Regions from separate parts of the Homo sapiens genome. Here all the other regions are linked to region 3. Evidence: promoter capture Hi-C in 16 types of primary human blood cells and fetal thymus (Javierre and others, 2016). All regions are on one chromosome and are shown on one strand. Each heading gives the region's core, a stretch centred on a gene start or on the middle of the fragment in contact. The rest is flanking DNA. Distances are from core to core; before and after follow the strand shown.

Region 1 (2,700 bases), core at 118-2,617, 110 kb after region 3:
GATGTTGGTATTATTCTGATAAAGTTACAGTGATTATAATTTTGGAGAAGGAGGGAGAGGCTTTCAGTGGATTCCTGAAAGTGATGATGGTTGAGCTGGGAGTAGGTTTCTCTCAGTGGAGAGGAAATAGTATGAATAAAAGTACGACATTTTGAGATGTAGGTAGTCATCCTCTGGTTTTGATACTGGGCAAAGATGCTTAGGCACTTCAGAGGTTTTCTGGCCCATCTTTCTAATCCTGAGCATAACTTCCCAGAATGGATCTATGGTGTCTCTCATGGCACCCCGTGTATACTGGGAGGCCTAGGTTTTCTCAGTAACTTCCTTATAATTATAAAGAGCATTAACTCTTTAAGATAATGCATGAGTAGATATAATTTCATAAATGGAATTGGTAGAGCTTGAAAAGTTAATGCACTTTCCCAAGTTAGCATCTTAGTTACTTTTCAAAAGCAGGACAAAAACCATTGCTTGTCAGAGTAAGATATAAAGCAAAGAACTCTTTTTCCCCATGAGGTCTAATAGAGCAAATCACCTACAAGGAAGACATTATTTTTTGCCTGAATGGTAGGAGCGTGTGGTGAGTCATGAATCAATAAAAACATTACCATAAGCTATTTAGTGATTCATCTCTTTCTTATTTCTAAAATAGGCTTCAAACAGAAGAACATTTTACTTATATCCTCAGATTGTGCTCTGAGATGCGCTTATAAAATTCTAGGGTCAAACTCTACATTTGACTGCTAGAATAAAATTCCCATTGATGCAAAACTTCAGGAAATTTGTGGTTTGCAGAAGAAAGGTAATAATACTCGTTTCTCTGCTTCCATTTGAGAAAGTTTTTAGATTTTCTTTCCTCTGTAATTAAGTGAAATTGGATCTTACTTTTCATACTTTACTATTTTTGAAAAGCAGATTGCTAAATGTGGCAAACTGTATTTTCCAAAAATGGCCAAAGCAATATTCCCAGGACAAAGTGTTCTAGAACTTTACCATTCCTCTGTCAAGAAGAAGAGTCTATTTCCTTTCCCATTGACACTAGGAAGGCCTTGTGACCACGTAGATTAAAAGAATGTGTATGAGTGACACAGTGTGTCTGTTTCTCTACTCTTCTCTCTTGACCTTGGGTGGACCTTTTTGACCACCCCTGTGAATAAAATGCAGTGAAAGTAATGCTTGTGAGGTTCAGGCAGAAAAAGTCGTACAGCGTCTGCGTGGTTCTCTCACTCTTGGGAAGCTTGCCCTTAGAATTCAGCCACCATGTTGTGAGGAAGCAGAGGCCACATGGAGGGCCCACATGTATATGTTCTGGTTGACAAGCCAGCTATTGTCCTGGCTAACAGCTAATACTGACTGTCAAACATGGAAGTGAGCAAATCATCTGATGTTTCCAGATCCTTGCATTTGAGCCATTCTAGTTGAGGCCAAGATATCACTACCTAATCCTGCTTAAACTGCAGATTTGGGAATAAAATAAGTCTTTTTACTTTAAGCCACTAAGCTTTATGGTGGTTTTCTACACAGCAATAGATAATTGGAACGCTAAACAATAGCAATGAATAAGCAGAATTTTTTTTCATTTCAAGATGTTTCTCAAGATTTAAACAATGCGACTTTAAATAAATTAAAAGATGTATTAATCAATACGTCTATTGTAAAGTAGCAGAAAGAAGATTCAACAATTACTCTGGAACAGAAGCAGAGGAATCCGTTTCAGAATTAGCTCCTATTTTCAACCTCCCATCCCTCTCCATCTCCTAAGTTGATACAGAACTATATGCCTGACATTTAATAGTCAATTGATTTAGGGAAAAATAGGGCTCAGAATTTAGTTAAGGATAGCCAAACTTGTACCTGACTGATTTTCCCCAAGCATTCTGTTTATTGATATGTAATAAATACAAGTCACAAGAAATGGTGCAAGTTCTCTTCATAAGATCCTCTTTCTTCTCATTGTGAACAGATATGCTGCAGAAACCCAATGAACAACCTTTCCAGTGCATTTCTCCCCAGTGTAGAGCAGGCCTTCTTAATCTGTTCAGCCTGCTAATAACAAAATACCATATGCTGGGTAACTTATAAACAACAGAAATTTATTTCTCATACTTCTGGAGGCTGTGAAATCCAAAATCAAGATGCCAGCAGATTCAGTGGCTGGCGAGGGCCTGCTCCTTATAGATGGTCCCTTCTAGCTATGTCCTCACATGGTGGAAGGGTAAAGAAGCTCCCTTGGGCTCTTTTATAAGGGCACTAATCTCGTTCATAAGGGCTCCATCTCATGACCTCATCACCACCCAACGATCCTACCTCTTAATACTATTGCACTGGGGATGAAGTTTTAACAGGAATTTTGTGAGACCACAAACATTCAGACCATAGCACTCACCCATACCCCAGCCTTTTTGCCATCCCTTCCTGCAGCTAATCTTAAGTTATCACTCTCTCAGTTCTTTTTTTAGAGTTGCTAGTGCTAATGAGGGATATCTTAGCTACAGTGACACTAAATCACTCTGCACTAATTTCAGATGAATATTCACTGTTACTCAGCAAGCCTTTTAAAAATTCAGTCCCTGATGACTTCTTTTTGAATTGCTAATAATTTAGAAGTTAGTTGTTCCAGACTTTTCAAAATCCCCTGATCATACTGTGAACTTCTAAGAGATGATCTAAATCCTTTTACATGAAGTTAGAGGCTTTTAG
Region 2 (2,700 bases), core at 154-2,653, 90 kb after region 3:
TCTTGAGCTATGTTCTGGGATACAGTTAAGTTACTTGGAATTAATTTACTAATTTGAGACTTGCTTGCAAGCTTTGTTTGGTGGGATTAGAGCAGGTTTTAGTCTAGAGCTAATACTGCCCACTACTGAGGCAAGATCCTTCTGAGTATTCTACCTTATACCCATGAATTGTGAGGGTTTTCCTCTCTGGCAGGTGCAAACACAGATTATTCCCAGCTCTGTGTGAGCTTCAGGATTTCCCTTCTGCTCCTTTCTTGTGGTGATTTCCCAGCCTGAGATTATTTTCTCAAGTGCAAGTGTTGAGTAGTCAGTAGCTGAAGACTTGAGGGGCATCCTCAGCAGGTCTCTAGAGCTCTCTCTAGGCAACAGTCTCCTTTCCAGTACTCTTCTCTGTGAACTACAGGTAGTTTAATCTTCTCAGACACCCAATTCCATCTCTCCAACTCAAAAGTCACCAATGAGCTTTACCTAAATGTGACCTCCCTATTCCACAGGCTAAAAATTCCCCATAAATTGTCAGCAGAGGCAACTGCAGAGCTCACTTATTTTGTTTTTTTATCTCTGAGGAATCACTGTCCTGCACTTCCTGATGTTCTATGTCTGAAATACACTGCTTTATATATTTTGTCTGTTTTTTTCCCCATAGATTCAGGTGGCAGGGTAAGTCTAGTTCATGGTACTTCATCTGGGGTGGGGTGAAAATCTCTCAAGGTAGTTTCTGTTAACCGTAGTCACTAGACAGTAAATTTGACTCATTTATATTGCAATGGACTTAAGTTTCCCAGACATAGCCAAGTTCTGGGTCATATACTGGTTCTAGAAACTGTCCTTTAGAGTGTTCTAAGGCTGCCTCATAAGTGCAAGCCTGTTCACATTTTTCTCATAATAAAAATGACCAATCATTAATTTTCTCATTGATGAAATCAGAAAGTGATAATTTTTCTTTTAAAATGATAATACAGTATTCTATAATTTGTCATTAATTTTAATTCAAACTTGCTTATATCTAAGACACTCAACAATTTGTATACCATACACATTTTATTGAGAACCTACTTTGTGCCAAACAGACACTCTTCTAGATGTTAGTAATAGAGCTGATAACAGAAAAGTAAGGTTCTTGAATTCGTGTAATTTATCTTCTCTTGGCATCAGTGAGAAGGCAGCTAACAGAAAAACAAACAAATGTACTAAGTAAAAAAAAAAAAGACTGAAGCCAAAAAAATCAAATAAGGATAACCATAATGCAGGAAATTAAAATAGGATGACTGGACAGCTACTTTCGATTAAGTAGTTGGGACTGCTCCAAAGAAGTTACATGATCTGAAAGAAAAAGGAAAAGTCAAGTGTGAAAAGATCAAGGAAAAAGTTTTCCACATAGAAGAAATAAGTGCAAATGTCATAAGCCAGAAAGTGGACATGAGATGTTTAAGGATGACTCATGTTGGCAGGTGCAAGGAGGAAGGGAGAGAAAAGTCAAGGAGGTCACAGAGGTAGACAAGCATGTGGTTCTTTATAAGGCAGCTCAGGAGTTTGGGTTTTCTTTTGAAGGTGGGAAATCACTAAGGATTAAAAAGGAATGGGATGACATGATCTGATTTACATTGCATATCCCCTCTGACTACTATATGGAGAATTGTAGAGGGGATTATAAAGGAGCAAGGGAAAAAGCAAGAGATCAGTTAGGGGGAGACAGGGTGATAATGGATATGGAAAGGAGTGGATGATGTGGGATGGGTTTTGGTGGTAGACTCAACAGGACTTGATGGATTGAATGTGGAGCATGAAGAAGCATGCCTAGGTTTCGGACTCCAGAAACTGGGTAGATGGCCATATCATTTACTGGGGAATTTTGAAGTGAAAGAAGTTTGTGGAAAAAACAAATAAATAGTCATTTTTGAGCTGTGTCAGTTTTGAGCTATTTACTAGAAAAACTTATTTAGATATGGAGTAGGATTTAGACATATAAATCTGTAGCTCCAGAAACAGAGCAAAGCTAGAGGAGTAGTTTTGAGAATCATCACTAATTGATGGTATCTAAAATGATCAGCTTGGAAGAAGGCACAAAGAAACAGTGTGTGGATAGACAAAAAAAGCGGGGGATCCAGACAGTTGCACCGTGCTGGGTGATGTCAGCATTTGGCGTTTATCAAGGAATAAAAAGAGAGCAAAGGAGACTCAGAAGGGGTGAGCTGTGAGGGGAGAGGAAAACTAGGAAGTGCGTTTTTTCTGTAACCAAAAATAAAAGCACTTTCAAAAATAAAAGAGTGGTCATTATAAACATAGAGGTCATCAGTAACCTTGATTAGAGCAGGCATAGTAGACTGGTAGGGGCAGAAAGGCTGAAGAGAGGATATGGGGTGGAGAAGCAAAAGCCGGTGCTTCTGGACTGCTCTTTAAGGAAGAAGCTGTGCTGTGAAAGGAGCTAAGAAATGGGACAGAAGCTGCAGTGGGTTGAGGTTTTTTTTATTAAAGAGAGGAAATATTCAACATGTTTTAGATAAATGGCAATAATTTATTAGAGAGGCAGAAACTGATGCAAGATAGGAAGTAATTGCAGGAACAGAGTCCTTAAAAACAAAAGGAGAGGGCTCTAGAACACAAGTGCAAGAGTTGGCCTTGGATAGGAGCAGAGCTAGTTCATGCATATTAATAGAAGGGTAGGCTGATTGCTTCAAGAGGCAAAGATGCATGAGCTAT
Region 3 (2,700 bases), core at 185-2,684:
CAACAAGAGCAAACAAAAGCCCACGCAGGAGATGTGTAAATATTTCATGAAGCAAAGCCTTAATCAACCCTCTCTCCCAAATCTTGCTGGTGTTGTAAACACTTCAGTTTCTTCTAGTCCCACCATGACCCAGATACCTTGCAAAAACAAAATAAAAACATAGTCCAATGGATCTTTAAACAAATGTGTTGTGAAAATATTTAGATGGAGCATACCCAAGTACCGCTTTAACCAAGAGGAAGAAGACACCTTACTCAAAGGTGGGTGCTTCTTGAGTGACTGCTCAGAGCTCTGTTTCTCCCCTCCCCCTCCAAGCCCTTGCCTTTTGCCCACCTCCTCGGCTGCTTTGTGGACATTCACATCGTCTTAACCTTGAACTGCCTACACCCCAAGCGGTGATTTCTCCCAATGGCCCTCCAGAAAGCCCTTGAAACCTGGTCTGGATTCGATGCCTTCCCATCACCCAAAATTCACTTCCCAGTGGCATATTAAGTACCTCTCCTTTTTTCCCTCTTTCACTGTCCATTATTGCGTCTGAAATGATGCCTACATCGTTTCCATCTGCCTGGAGAGCATGAAGATCTTCTGTGTGTGTTGGCTGACAGGCTCCTTCAGACCTCTTCTAAAGCCCATCTTGAAAGAACCGTTTATCACCTCTAGTCTCTACCCTGATTTAATGTGGTTCCAAAGTTCGCCTCTATTAGTGAACATGTCTCTACAACGATTTCCCTTTATCAACCCCTGCCCGCCCTTCCTCTTCTTTCTGCCTACCTCAAGAAAACCTATTTACATATGCATTTATGTATGTGTGTGTATATACACACACATACATACATCCATATGTAATATATATTTCTATGTTTTGACCTTAAAGGGGATAAGCATAGGAAAATGAGACAAATGTCACACACACACACACACACACACACACACCCCTCATATTCGGATATTCGCAGTGTGCAGACCCGATTGATTATAAATTTCCCTGCCCACGATCAGCAGGCGTCTTCTCCCATTTACCTTCAAAGCCAGAGCCAAAGAGAGCAATGACCTTGCAGAGAAATTCATCACCTGCGAGAAAGACTGCCCCTCCTAGAGCGCAGGATGGGACAGAGACAAGAGCAACAGGCAAAGGATCCCTGTGCAAAATGTGGGACCGAATCCCTTCCGCATCCCTACAGAGCACACCACCAGGCTCCGGTCCCCCGCGCTGGCCGCCAGGCGGAGGTGCGCAGGGGGCGTCTCCTACCTGCTCTGCCCGGCTCCGCGGCGCGGCGGGGCCACTGCCTGCGCTGTGGCGGGGGCTTCCCGTCGCATATCCCAAGCACCGTCTCTCGGCGCCACACCGATGGCTCCGGCGGGCCCGCGAGCTGAGGTCCTTCTCAGCCCGGTCCCGGAGCGAGCTCCGTGCGTTCAGGAACTGAAATTACTATGCCAAGAGCAGAGGCGGCGCGCAGCAGTCGGGCGTAGACCGAGGGGGCTGCCCCCACCGCGGGGCTGCAGACGCCGCCGCCGCCCCCGCCGGGCGCAGAGCCAGTTTGGAGGTGAGAGTTCACTTGCCCGACTGTTCATCCGTCAGGCCCGGGGTGTACCCATCTGTCCAGCGCTGCCCAGCCTGAGCATCCGAGAGAGGGGCGACAGCTTTGCAGGCGGCGGCGGCGGCAGCAGCAGCGGCGGCAGCAGGAGGCCGAGCTCCGCCCCCTCCAAACCCCCTCCCCCGCCTTCCCGGTCCTGGGGGAAAGTGTTGCAGCCCAGGCTGCTGAGCGCCGGGCCGGGAGCTAGGAGGGGTCTGGTGGGTTGTGGTTCTGCACCCCTGGAGACCAGAGACAGATGGAAAGTTAAGAAGGGATTAAGGAAGAGGGCTGGGGACCCAGAGCGATTTAGCAGGCATTCTGGCCCTTGCTCCCTCCCACAGGTCACCAGACTCCATGGCTGAGTCTAGACTCTAGCAGAAGGTTTCCAATAAAGCCACGTGCAGTGGAGATCTGAAAGCAAGATCATCCGATAAGTAATATGTTTTGCAAAATGTACAGTATCCTGCGTATTCGGAGAGGCACTGCTGACAGTGTTCCTGTCCCCATCCCCTTCCCGCTACCCCATGGGCTTGGAGGGCTTTGAGGGCTTTGGAAATCTTCCCTGTTGAGCAGCTCCAGAATCCTGAATGGATGTGTAGTATGGTTAGCAGCTGTAGATGGTGCAAAATGATACGATGAAAAGAGCTTCATTATTAACTGGGTATTTGTTGGAAGGCTCTGTGAAAAATGCCTTACATACAGCCTCAGCCTCTTTAATTCTTACTACAACCCATTGAGGTGCCTTACCATGTGGACGAGGAAACAGGCTTATATGATCTAAACACTTTGCTTGAGGTCACACAGTAGTAACCTGCTCAGCTGGGATTCAAACCAATCCAAAATATATCCTCTCATCTAGTACACAGGACTCACCTAGGGGGTCTTGTTAAAATGCTGATTGTGATCCAATAGGTCTGGGGTAGGGACTGAGGAAACGCTTTTTTAGTTTTTTGTTGTTGTTGTTTTTTGTTTTTTGCTTCGTCTCCTAGGCTGGAGTGCAGTGGCGCGCTCTCGGCTCACTGCAAGCTCCGCTTCCCGGGGTCAAGCGATTCTCCTGCCTCAGCCTCCCAAGTAGCTGGGATTACAGGCGCCCACCACCACGCCCGGCTAATTTTTGTATTTTTAG

The links. The method cuts DNA at HindIII sites, captures the fragments that hold promoters and counts their contacts. A CHiCAGO score of 5 or more calls a contact.
Region 1: a fragment that was not itself captured here is called in contact with the fragment with the promoter of GPRIN3 in region 3 in 5 of 17 cell types (naive CD8 T cells, activated CD4 T cells, naive CD4 T cells and 2 more); the score reaches 7.3 in naive CD8 T cells.
Region 2: a contact is called between a fragment that was not itself captured here and the fragment with the promoter of GPRIN3 in region 3, in 1 of 17 cell types (naive CD4 T cells). The highest score is 5.6, in naive CD4 T cells.

Annotation. Positions count from the first base shown.
Region 1 is chr4:89,416,587-89,419,286 of GRCh38, forward strand. No RefSeq gene overlaps it. Among named protein-coding and RNA genes, the nearest start is that of GPRIN3, 110 kb to the left of the region's middle. RefSeq lists an enhancer at 2,378-2,700. The HindIII fragment of the contact is 264 bases long and covers 1,236-1,499 here.
Region 2 is chr4:89,396,229-89,398,928 of GRCh38, forward strand. No RefSeq gene overlaps it. Among named protein-coding and RNA genes, the nearest start is that of GPRIN3, 90 kb to the left of the region's middle. The HindIII fragment of the contact is 2,669 bases long and covers 70-2,700 here.
Region 3 is chr4:89,306,366-89,309,065 of GRCh38, forward strand. GPRIN3 (GPRIN family member 3) reads right to left here and starts at 1,435. Exons shown (of 2, transcript NM_198281.3): 1 at 1,250-1,435. RefSeq lists silencers at 1,385-1,434, 1,445-1,514. The HindIII fragment of the contact is 16,857 bases long and covers 1-2,700 here.